Regions from separate parts of the Homo sapiens genome. Here region 2 is linked to region 1. Evidence: promoter capture Hi-C in 16 types of primary human blood cells and fetal thymus (Javierre and others, 2016). All regions are on one chromosome and are shown on one strand. The core of a region is centred on a gene start or on the middle of the fragment in contact, and the rest is flanking DNA. Distances in the headings are between cores, read along the strand shown.

Region 1 (6,634 bases), core at 1,418-3,917:
ACGGGAAGGGACTCGCCCAGTTGGGGTTGGTTTGGGAGTTTCTTTGGCCGGGGATGAGGACAGGGCTGTCCTTGTTCAAGAACTTATCTATAATAGCCTCCAAAGCAGACTGGCTTGATGCCCAAGTCCTTTTTCTAAAAATTACCTGCCCATTACTTTTTTTTGGTAGGGGGGTAAATGTTGACAGATTTAACAGGACTGCTAAATAAGAGGCATTTTGTTTGTTCAAATACCTTAAGAAGCCGTCTAGCCTCCAAAGCTATGACCACCAGCTGCACCCGGCTGCCTAACCCCTGGACCCCGCCCCCCCCGCCGTATGCCCCGCCAGCCTTTCCCTTTGCCTTGTGTTTTGAAGTTTATTTTCCCACATTTAGCCTTGAATTCTTTCCTTCCTTCCCCTGCAGTGTTGGAGCAACAGCTTAGAGGGAAACACTTCGAGGGCAGCTCAAGGCTTTATCATCCTTGCCTGCCCTCTTCCCCCTCTAAACAAAGCCCTGGAACAAACTAAACAAAAACTTGTTCTCTAGAGGAATTGTTTCCTCAAGGGAAATCATAAAGCAACCCCCTCCCCACAACACACCCCCCAGGGTAGACGCCCATCAGAAGGAAGCCATGTAGACTCTTCATGCCAGGACTCTTGCTGTTAGGAGGTAAACCAACCAACCATCTACTGAAGCTTATCCTCCCCACCATCACCTCCCATCTGCCTCTACCCGGGAAACTGCTACAGGGCAAGAGACTCTCCACTAAAATCCAACACTAAGCCTGCTAGACTAAACCTCCCCTTCTACAGGACCCCTTGGAGGACAAGTCTCCCCACACACGGCTGCCAGCAAATACGTATATGCTTATCTGTGTGATGTCCATCAATCTGGGGACAAGATTTTGATGTTTTCCAAATGCTTCCAACCTAACAGTCCGTGGCAGAAATAAGGAATGAGGATGGGCTCATTCCCGTTTCTCACATGGGGAAACGGAGGCTGGAAAATGAGCGACGACTAGATAGGCATAAAGTATTGAGGTGCTGCTGTAGACTAAACGTTGCTTCTCATCAGACCTCCTTTCTGGCATCTTTCACCCTGAGAGCAAGGTAACACCCTGGACAATCTACCCCTACTCCCTACCTGCTGCAATCTAGAACTTTCACCCAGGTCCTGGTCATTCCACTGGGGGAGCAGGCCAAGAAGAGTTGATGGTTGAAGCTGAGCCCTCGAGAAACTGGGGTAGAGGGCCTCGGTCCCCAAATGGGCCCCAAGGTCTCAGCCAGGATAGGCAGCCCGTTTATCCAAAGTGAGGTCAATGCCACCCATCGGGCTGTGCACCAGAAAATAAGCGGTTCCCAATGTCAGCACGGAGGGAAGTCCCCCACCCACCCCAATTCCGCACACACTCTCCTCCCCCATCATAAAGGGACTACGCGGGTATTATTCGTTTGTGCAACCTGCTACTTTCACAAAGTTTTACTCCAAGCCCTTGAAGGATGTCTCCGCGAGATAAGCCTTCCCGGAAGCCTGAGCGCGTCCCCAGCATTCCAGGCACCAGCCCTCATCCCGTGGGTTCGGGCCCCACAGAGCCTCCAGCTCCTCTCCGGAACTCTGCTGGGGGCGGAAGATTTTGCCCAGGCTCGGGCTGAGGGACCCTCCCGCCACTCTGCCGGGTTCACGTTCCTTAAGAAAAGCCTGGCAGGCGTGGCACTGGCCCTGGAGCGGGGAGGTGGAGACACGAGGGGATGGCACCAGGCTTGGCTCCCAGACTCCGGGAGCGTCTCCAGGGAAAGATAAACGCCTTTATCCGTCCCACAGCCTCTTCCCAAGGAGGGAGGTACCGTCACACCCACACTGAAACACCGTGGAGCCTAGTTCACCCGGGAATCAACTCCAATTTGTCTCCGGCCAAACTAAGTTCCAAAGAGTCTCCGCGCCTGGGGGACCCCTGTGTCCCTCGGGTGAGCGACAGATCCTCGAAGCCTGACCCATGATGAGACACGCTCTCTCATCACCCCCTGGACCTTCCACAGGGACTGAGGGTCACCCAAAGCTGTGAAGGGGTCTTCCTTTCAGCGCCCCCTAAAGCTCAAGCCAGCTTCAGATGTATATGGGGGTACAGGCGGCGACTGACCTCTAGGATCTTGTCCAGGCCCTCCTGACCCAGGCACGGGAACTCCTTGAGCAGATGCAGCTTCTGTGTGTAGTAGTTTTTCTTGGCCTCCTTCCAGTGTGGCTCCTCCAGCACTTCGAAGATCGCCGCCCCGATGGCCAGGTAGAAGATGATGGCCGAGGTGAGCAGAGGGCCCCGGTCCACCATGGCTCCCGAGCGGCCGCCTCCTAGAGAAAGCCTCTCCTAGCCCCAGCTGCTACCAGTCCGCCCGCCCTCCAGCCTCTGAAAACAGCTGTTTGAATTTGGAGCTCCGCATGCGCAGTGCCCGGTACTCACCCCCCGCAAGCACCGCTCCCCGGACAGAGTTGCTTGGCCAAGTTGGCCCACGGAGTGCGGGGAGCTGCGTGGGGCCCCACTCACGCGGCCCGGGGTGGGCGAACACCAGCGGGGCTGAAAGGGCGCCCTGGACCGCGGATGCGTAAGGAGCGGGAAGAACACAGGACTTGACTCTGGGCAGACACGTGGGCCGCTTCTCCACGCGTCGCTCCTCCGCGCGCCACTAGCAGTATGCGCCGCGCCCGCCTCCGCACGCCTCTTTAACCAGCGCCCGGCGCGCTCTGCCCCCTTGCTCCGGGCTCCGACCGGGGAGGAGCCCAGGCGGGCCCCGCCCCTTCCCCGCACAAGCAGCCCGGCGAGCGCAGGAGTGAGCGCGAGGTGAGCGCTAGAAGAGGCTTGGCGCTCCCCGCGCTCCCAGGGTCAGCCGCCAGGGGAGGCTGCGCCGCCCGCCCAGACCTGCACGCCCTGCGGTGCCCGAGGGGTTGCGGTCTCAGGGACTCGTGTTTGTTATTAGGACTGGCGTGTTAACTAAAATGATTGTGACTGAGGTCAGGAGTTTATTGCTTTTGTTATTTTTATTGTAATTCCATTTTCATTTACTGATGTTTCTTCCAAAAAAGTCTAATGCTCAGTCTCTCCGTGTCTCTCTTCCACACACTTTCTTGTAAGCCTGAGGAAGGGGGTTAGAACGGGGCTGAAGAAGCTGTAGGGAATCAGAGGACATCAGGAACTAATCCAGCCACCCACGCGTGATTCCTCCCCCTCACCCCGTTCTCACCTACCCGGGTGAGAACCCTGCATCTGGAAGGAGTGGGCAGCTCAATTCGTGGCACCCCTGTGCGCCCCCCCAATACACAGTATCTCTACGGGAAACACTTGGCCTCTTTTCTTTTTTTCTTTTCTCTTTTCTTTTCTCTTCTCCTTTCCTCTCCTTTCCTCTTTTCTTTCAGACGGAGTCTCACTCTGTCGCCAGGCTGGAGTGCAGTGGCACTATCTCGGCTCACTGCAACCCCCGCCTCCCGAGTTCAAGCAGTTCTTCTGCCTCAGCCTCTCAAGAAGCTGGGACTACAGGCGCACGCCATCACGCCCAGCTAATTTTTGTATTTTTAGTAGAGACGGGGTTTCACCGTGTTGGCCAGGCTGGTCTCAATTCCTGACCTCAGGTGATCCGCCCGCCTCAGCCTCCCAAAGTGCTGGGATTACAGGCGTGAGCCACCGCGCCCGGCCCACTTTCATACATATGCTCCAGCTGATTTAAAATTCCACCCCCGCCACCTTATCTCCCTCGTTGGCTTTATGTCCTTCCTAGTACTAAATTCCCTCTGCTATATTATATAACTTTATTTATTGTTTACTCTGTATTGTGCCCTCTCCCCGCCACACACACACAGACACACACACACACACACACACACACACACACACACGGAAATGTCTGCTGGGGAGATGGAGAATCTGTCTTGTGTAATGATGTATCCACAGTGCTTGTTACATACATAGCAGACACTCAATAACCATGTGTGCAATGAAGGAGTGAATGAATTTGTTAAAAACAGGTGCCCAGGATGTTTCTAACTCGCCTTGCTGCCATTCTCTGAGCTCTTGTAAACCCCAGGAAGTACTGAATCCCTTCCATGCATCATAAGCAGGCCCTGTCATTCGACCCACTTTGCAGTGAGGAAAAAAGCTCAGTGGGTTAGTTTGTTCAGTCTTTCAACCAGCACCAGTCAGAAGTTGGAGGGGGAACCTCCTTTCAGTGCTCTGTACCAGGGGCTGGCCCTGCCCTTCTCTGGCCTCTGTAGGGGCAGGTACTGGAGTGGCCAGAGTCCCTGAGCACTGTCCCCTGGCCAAGGCCTTTTCTTTCCATCGAGAAGAAGGGGAGTCATTTCTCACCTCCTACCCACCCTGTACCCAGGCTGTGGCCTGAACCCCAAGGTGTCAAGAGACACTTTACTTGGGGAGGGGGGTATCTGTACTATCTCCAAATCTGGCTGGAATGGAGGGGTTAGGGATACAGTTGGAAGCATTGATCTGATTTTGCTGATGTTTCTGTCTCTCCTTATGGCAACATGAGCGTGTCCAGAGAAGAAGACCAGAGCAGGAAGCTGGGGAGCCCCAGATTTCCTGATACTGCATCCCTGAGGTGTGCAGTGCCAGTCCCCTCAGGACCCCCCTGGCCAAGGATCATCCTGGACAAGGCCCTGGGGGTGCTTCTCTGTAGACAACCCACTCCCAGCACCAGGCCTCTCACCCAACCCAACATATCCATCTTCTCTAAGCCTTGCTGACCTCCTGCCTACCCTGTCCCCCAGGCTGTGGCCTGAACCCTAGCTCTGCAGTCTCATTCTCCAGCCCTCCAGCTGGGATGGAAACCAAGCATGGGTTCCGGATCCCCCCTCTCTGGATGGAGTTCACCCTGTTTGTGAAGAGTTCAGGGCTGCAGTGTGAACGCTTCAGTGAGCATGGGGTGGGGGCAGTTTGAGAGGCCACAGGCCCTCTCTTTGTTTGGAAAATTCCCTACCATTCCTCTCCCACCTCCGGTCTGTGTTCTCTTCCTAAGAAAATAAAGGGCCTCTTCCTATTTCGGTCTCACAGCCTCATGAAAATGCTGAACACTTTGAGATGAATTGATTTTTATTCGAGGCCTCTGTATGTTGTAGTTTCTTTGTCCTTCCACTCTGTTTCTGCATTTCCTGTCCCCTTCTTCCTTCTTGCTCTCCATGTGGTGCTGACTGACTCCTCATCCTCTCCTTCTGTCGCCGCATCCTTTGCTTTCCTGTATTTTTCCAAAGCTCCTTCCCCAGCTCTTCATTCTCCCTCCTCCTGCCTCTCTCCTTTGTCTCCATCCCAGTTGAATGTGCTTCCCCTCCCCCAACTTCCCCTCCCCTCCCCATCTCCCCACTCCCCTCTCCAACTCCCCTGCCCCAGCCAGATAGTTGGATCAACTTGACCTTCTGTAGATCAGGGGCACACACCTGCTCTCTGCACAGCAGCCAGTGGGGGCTTTTATAAAATGTAAACTGTGCTGAAACTATCGAATATTTAGACAACACGAGCCTTAAGATTGGAAAAGGGAAAAGTGGGTAAATGGGAATGAGGTGATGTGAGATATATATTTTCCTACAGGGCTGATAAATAAATCCATTCCAATAGCATACGTGTAGTTCTTAGTATTATGATTATTGATCAGGGTTGATAATAATTTCAGAGTGCAACCTTTTGGAAGGCAATCAGCTCTGAGGAATGTAAACCAACAATAAAATTCTAGGCCCCTCCCAAGCAAGCAAATGGACCCTTCCTCTTGACCAAGGGCATTCTCAAGTAAACACAAAACACTAGTTCAGGCCATGATGGAATGGGTGGTTGGACATGGCTCCTTTTTTTTTTTTTGAGAGGGCGTCGCACTCTGTCACCCAGGCTGGAGTGCAGTGGCACAATCTCAACCCACTGCAACCTCTGCCTCCTGGGTTCAAGCAATTCTCATGTCTCGGCCTCCCAAGTAGCTGGGACTACAGGCATGAGCCACCACGCCCGGCTAATTTTTTGTATATTTAATAGAGATGGGGTTTCACCATGCTGGCCAGGCTGGCCTCAAACTCCTGACATCAACTGATCTGCCCACCTTGGCCTCCCATAGCACTGGGATTACAGGTGTGATCCAAAGCGCCCAGCCGACATGCCTCCTTATAACTTCCTCCCTTTGGAATTCAGGCACAGCTGACCAGCATTAATATTAAAACAGAGACCTTAAGGCACAACCTGGCCAACATGGTGAAACCCTGTCTCTACTAAAACTACAAAAATTAGCTGGGCGTAGTGGCTTATGTCTGTAATCGCAGCTACTCAGCAGGCTGAGGCATTAGAATTGCTTGAACCCGGGAGGCAGAGGTTGCAGTGAGCCGAGATGGCACCATTGCACTCCAGCCTGGATGATAGAGACTCCATCTCAATAAAAAAAAAAAACAAAAACCCAAAAAACAGAGACCTTAAGACTGACAGTACAGACTCTTTGTAGCAATAAGAATCATGACAGCAGGCCCTGAGAGAAATCGAAGTATTTTACCCCAAAATATATTCATTTGGCCTATTTTGAAATGCTCCTGCAGGAGCGCTCCCTGCGCTCCCGGGGTCGTCTGGCACCTTTGTAAGTTGGATAACGAACATTTATAATCTATTCTCTCTGAAGCCTGCTACCTGAAGG
Region 2 (6,126 bases), core at 961-3,460, 360 kb before region 1:
ATATACATGGTCTAATACATATTGTTTTGAGAAAACAAGAGTATTTTATGAATCTAATATTTTCAATACCATCTTAAAATCTGAATTAGGGGTTTGAAATATATTTGTATTCAGAAATGAAAATTGTTTTAGCAATTAAAAATTAAACATATTTTAACTTTTAGAACCCTGGATATGCTGGGCGCCAGGAACTACCAGAAAACCTAAAAATCCAGTTTAGAACTGTTGCTATGATGGTTCCTGATAGACAGGTATGCACTAGGATTTAAAAGCATAATGTGCTTTATGTTCTTTACTTGTTTTTCACTAAAGTTGAAAAAAACTCACTATATTAATTTTCAGATCATTATGAGAGTTAAACTTGCAAGCTGTGGTTTTCTTGAAAATGTTATCTTGGCTCAAAAATTTTACGTTCTTTACAAACTCTGTGAAGAGCAACTTACTAAACAGGTAACTTTATAGATCTGCTTTCCTCCTAGCAATAGTATTTGGTTTTTTTGCTTTGTAATTTTCCCTTGATAAATACTCATCAGTGAGTTAAAATCTCATTGACTCTTTTCTAAAATGCTTTTAGAATTAATTTTACCTATTGGTTGTGTATTTTTAAGACCCTTTTATTTTGAAATAATTGTAGATTCACAGGAAGTTGCAAAGGAATGTACAGGGAGGCATGTACCCTTCACCCTGCCTTGCCTGGTGGTTGACATCTTGTAACTGTAGCGCAATAACAAAACTGGAAATGGACACTGAAGCAGTCCACAGAGTTTAAGGTTTCATCAGTTATACATGCACTGGTGTGTGTATATGTGTGTGTGTGTGTGTGTGTGTGTGTAGTTGTATGGAATATGTAAGATACGGCTCTGTTCCATCACCACAAGGTTCCCTCATGCTACTTTATAGCCACACCCACCTCTCTCCCAAATCCCTAACCCATTAACCTTTTCTCCATGTCTAGAATTTTATTGCAAGAATGTTATGTAAACGGAATCACATAGTATGTAACCTCTTGGTTATGCATTTAAAAATCTATTGTTTGGGCCGGGTGCCGTGGCTCACGTCTGTAATCCCAGCATTCTGGGAGGCCGAGGCGAGTGGATCATGAGGTCGGGAGATCGAGACCATCCTGGCTAACATGGTGAAACCCTGTCTCTACTAAAAATACAAAAAAAAAAAAAAATTAGCCAGGCGTGGTGGCACGCGCCTATAATCCCAGCTACTGGGGAGGCTGAGGCAGGAGAATTGCTTGAACCCGGGAGGTGGTGGTTGCAGTGAGCCGAGGTCCCGCCACTGCACTTCAGCCTGGATGACAGAGTGAGACTCCATCTCAAAAAAAAAAAAAAAAAAAACAAAAAAGAAACTATTGTTTGTTGCTCAGACTGTATCAGACTATATTATTCTCAAAAGATATTTAAGGTGTGAATACTTACTTGATCTTGCAGCTTGGATTTTCCCATGGAATGATCATATTTCAGTCAAAGGAAAGGCAGGAAGTTGAGCTAATAAACCTTTGTGGCTTAGTCACCCCAAAACTATCCCATATAAGTATCAGAATCGACCTATATGCATAGAGTGAGCCGTGAGTCTATGTTTAGTTTTTCAATTAAACCATCTTTTTGCCCTCTTCTCCCATCTCAGGTTCATTATGACTTTGGATTGAGAAATATTCTGTCTGTATTGAGGACTCTTGGATCTCAAAAAAGAGCCAGACCAGAAGATAGTGAATTAAGCATTGTCATGAGAGGACTAAGAGATATGAACCTTTCCAAACTGGTATCTTCTCTGAATTCTCTTCTTTTCCACAATTTTAATATTGTTTCTTTCTATTTGGTGGACAAGTAGAGGTAGGCTGATGTTGAGCTGTGAGCACCCATAATTACAGGGATAATAAGTGTGCAAAGCTACCACTGTGCTTCCAGAAGAAAGCAAAAGACCCCATGACCTGTGTGACCAACATGGACTATAAGTGCCTCCTTTTATCAGCTGTGTGCAGTGAAACAGGTCATCAGTGGGCTTCAGCTCCAAGACTCAACCTAGTTGTCTACCATTATTCACAAAGTGACACAAATTCTCAGCATAAGAATCTGGATTCACAGGGAACCATGAGAACTTTTTGCTTTCTCTGTATGTGACTAGCTTATCTCAGATATATCTCTCCCAAAACATAAACATCATTTCTATTTTCCAAAAACACATTGAAAATTTGCTGTGGAGAGCATGCTGCTTTCATGCTTGTCATGGTTACAGCCTGATTTTTTTTTTTTTCTTTGAAACAGACTCTCAGTCACCCAGGCTGGAGTGCAGTGGTGCAATCTTGGCTCACTGCAACCTCCTCATTCCAGGCTCAAGCTATTTCCCTGCCCCAGCCTCCTGAGTAGCTGGGACTACTGGCACACACCACCATGCCTGGCTAATTTTTGTACTGTTTTGTAGAGATAGGGTTTTGCCATGTCACCCAGGCTGGTCTCAAACTCCTGGACTCAAGTGATCCACCCCACCTCAGCCTCCCAAAGTGCTGGGATTACAGGCATAAGCCACCAAGCCCAGCCCAGCCCAGCCAGGTTGTTTTGAATAGCTGATGGACAGGTTCATGTGACATATAAGGATTTCTACATGCCACATATTGTGCCCATGCCATGGGTGTACAAAGTTGAAGAAGAAGTGGTTCAGGAAGCTACATTCTAGTTACAAAAACTAACATCTGTGGAGTTCATTAGTGTTACAAAGTCTTTTCAGGTGTATCGTCTTATTTGAGCCTCACAGCAACTCTGTGGGGTCTGGATGGCTAGCTTGTTTATTGTCACTTCACTTATTGGGGAATGGAGACTAGAGGTTGCAGGATTCCCCCATAATCACCATCAGCTGAGAAGAGGGGACAAAAATTTATAAGATTTTCTGGTGCCAAATCCACTGCTCCTGCCAGTATACCTCACTGCCTGTATGACCAACATGGACTGTAATGGAGGCTTAGACTCCCTAAGTCACCCAGGCTGGAGTGCAGTCTAAGCCTCCCTTAGATAATGGTATTTTGGAAATTCCTAGACAAGTACTCAAGAAAGCATCAGCAAAGCCCTAGAGAATAAAGAGAAATCATAAGGGGTCAGATGTTGGGAACAGGGCAATCTATGCATTAAAGACATTGCAAGCAAGGATTGGAGTCAGTGTACTCAAACCTACTGCTTATAAGAAAGGCTCAGAACACTGCCCTGATGGACTTTTGCAGCCATTGTTGGATGAAGTCATGCAGGGTTATGGCTATTTCCCCAATTTAAATAAAATATCCGTTCTTTAATTTCATGGGGTTGGGACTACAAATTATCATTTTTAAGGTTAATGCAAATGCCACTGTGAGAAGCAAAGATTCATGTGATAAAGTAATGAGGTCGTACTTTGGAGCAGTAGACTGGGGCAGGATTGTAGAACACATTGAATGCTAACGAACTTTGGGTACAATATAGATTCAGTGGTGATTGTATTAGTCTGTTCTCACACTGTTAATAAAGACAATTTATAAAGGAAAGAGGTTTGATGAACTCACAGTTCCACATGGCTGGGGAGGCCTCACAATCATGCTGGGAGGTGAATGAGGAGCAAAGTCACGTCTTTACATGGCGGCAGGCAAGAGAGCATGTGCAAGGGAACTCCCGTTTACAAAACCATCAGATCTTGTGAGACTTATTCACTATCATAAGAACAGCAGGGAAAGACTTGCCCCCATGATACAATTACCTCTCACTGGGTCCCTCCCACGACACGTGGGAGTTATGGGAGCTACGATTCCAGATGAGATTTGGGTAGGGACACAGCCAAACCATATCAGTGATATTCTGGAGAAAGTACTAGAGAATACAAGCCTGATTAGGAGAGTAATAAATGGTTCTCTGGGGATGAAGTGATAAGTACTATGCACATCCCAGCTAGCTGATAAATGTTTGTTGACTGAATGAGTAAATTTATTTTAAACTATGCCACCTTAGGTTGATGAAGATGAACCCCTGTTCCTCAGCTTAATCAATGACCTGTTCCCAGGACTGCAACTGGATAGTAATACTTATGCAGAACTGCAAAACGCAGTAGCCCATCAGGTTCAGATAGAGGGTTTGATTAACCATCCACCCTGGAACCTGAAACTCGTGCAGGTAAAGACATTTTAATCTATTATTAGTATAATGATAAGTATGTGTTAAACATTCCTGTCTGAATAGAAAAACTCATAGTTAGTCTTACTTGATGTAAATGTTAAATGAAAACATCATATATACATCATTGCAAAAAGAATACTTGGAAGGATGTGGTGGTCCTAGGAAGATAGTATGGATTTACCCTGCCTCACAGTAATCAAGCAGTAATTTACTGCAGTTTTTACTTATACCTGGTGACAATGTTGGGCGGAAATAGTAGGTTATAAAAACTCTAGGGGAACGGAACAACGCAGATGTCTTCTTGTGCCAATCTGATAGTACTGGCTGCAGCTGGGTGCCTCAGTGGAGTGCAGAGCCTGAGGAATCTGGGAGTGCTATTTTGCTCCTGCTTTGTGTGTGGACATGTTATATCCTTCACCTACACTAAAACCTGAATCTTTTGACTGCATATGTTGGTGTCTTTCTGTTCATCACATTTCATCCTTGTGACAACCATCTAACCACTTGATTGGATTACCAGTAGAATCAAGAACTTGTAGCAGAGACACAGGATTAAATCTCTATGAGCTTGATGCTTTGGGAATATTTTCCAGAGCTTTTGGAAAATTAAGGAGCTGAAATTGTGGACATTGTTGAAAACTGCATTTGAAATATTAATATAACGATTCTTATTTTAACTTACTGTTCTTGCCAGATTATAAGATGTGCAAGTATCTGAGATACATCCAAATCTTACAAAGAAATATGTGCATGGGGGAAAAGTCTTTTTCATCATTCATGTACTGGAAACCATTTTAAGAGTTTAAAAAATTTCTGGGAAAACATGATTTTATATATGATATGCATACAGTATACTGAGTTTTAAAATTCTTGCCATCTCAATGGGTGGCGACTAGAATTTTGGGTTCTTTGTTGATGTCAATAACATTGCTCTTGAACATGTCAGGAACAGTGCCTCTGTTGCTTTTAAACTATAGTTTACAATGGTAATACATTTCTGTCCAAAATGTTAGGAGAATAACTCACTCTCCCTCTGATCAGCTGTCAGACCTTTGACTTCTTAATTTTTTTAATGAGAAAACTGCAGACGGGATGTTATAGCAGCGGCTGTCCATGATCCTAGCATGTCTCCTCGAATCTCTTGTACCATTTCCACGTGCCCCTGCCCAGCTTCTGTGTGTTTTCGCTTCTAATAGCAAAAGGAGGCCTGGAGCCATTTTGTTGGCAGGCACAAAGAGTAGGTGCTGCACGGGAGTTTATTTCCCATCCACCCCCAAACAAACGTCTCTAAGAGTTGATGGAGTAGGAAAGTCAAGCTTGCCTGGTTCCAGGTGGAGCAATCTTTGAGGTGTAAGTTACACTCCAGTCTCCCGAGGGATCAGGCTCAAGTCTGTCCTCTACAGGGCTTTGTCCTCAATCACACCTTGCTTGGCTTCTTCCCATTCCTGTCCTGCTTTCCTCTTCTCTTACTGGTTTCTCCTGGGAGCACTACCTGAATAAATCACTTGCACAGGAATCCTCATTCATGATGTACTTCTGGGGAATTAGAAGGCCCCTTTGAAACGGATCTTCACTGTGATGCTCTGCGTTGCTGCTTTCCACCACTAAGGGGCGATATCATCACATTGGATGCCGAGAAAGTTTGCGCATGGAACAACTGCTGGTTATAGACCAACAAGCCAAAATCACAGGGAATCATCACGCAAGAAGCAAAAACTAGATGCTGAGTTAATTATTTCCAAAATGTAATTCAAGCTCCACATTGTTATTACTTTAGCACATATCGTTTTATAACGTGGTGCTCATTTGCTATGCACATCTAGTAAAACAACATTTTTTACAACTTAAAAATAGTGAACTAGTTACGTTAATGAAGAGCTTATTAAAGCCTTTAATCTTCAAGTAGCTACTATGAATGTCAGCAAGAGACTCATAAATTACATATTTTAATTTACTGGTTAATTGTGTAGTTATATGAGACGTCTTT

Evidence for each region. Contacts are between HindIII fragments. The CHiCAGO score rates a contact against its expected background, and 5 or more counts as called.
Region 2: a fragment that was not itself captured here is called in contact with the fragment with the promoter of KCNK5 in region 1 in 3 of 17 cell types (naive CD4 T cells, naive CD8 T cells and fetal thymus); the score reaches 6.5 in naive CD4 T cells.

The regions. Positions count from the first base shown.
Region 1 is chr6:39,226,808-39,233,441 of GRCh38, forward strand. It overlaps KCNK5 (potassium two pore domain channel subfamily K member 5), which reads right to left and starts at 2,668. Exons shown (of 5, transcript NM_003740.4): 1 at 2,119-2,668. The coding sequence starts at 2,304. RefSeq lists silencers at 1,346-1,415, 2,429-2,508, 2,609-2,958 and an enhancer at 3,246-3,973. The HindIII fragment of the contact is 7,595 bases long and covers 675-6,634 here.
Region 2 is chr6:38,866,427-38,872,552 of GRCh38, forward strand. DNAH8 (dynein axonemal heavy chain 8) reads left to right here. Exons shown (of 93, transcript NM_001206927.2): 46 at 165-251; 47 at 343-450; 48 at 1,636-1,770; 49 at 3,975-4,136; 50 at 6,110-6,126. Among named protein-coding and RNA genes, the nearest start is that of DNAH8-AS1, 84 kb to the right of the region's middle. The HindIII fragment of the contact is 6,485 bases long and covers 1-5,453 here.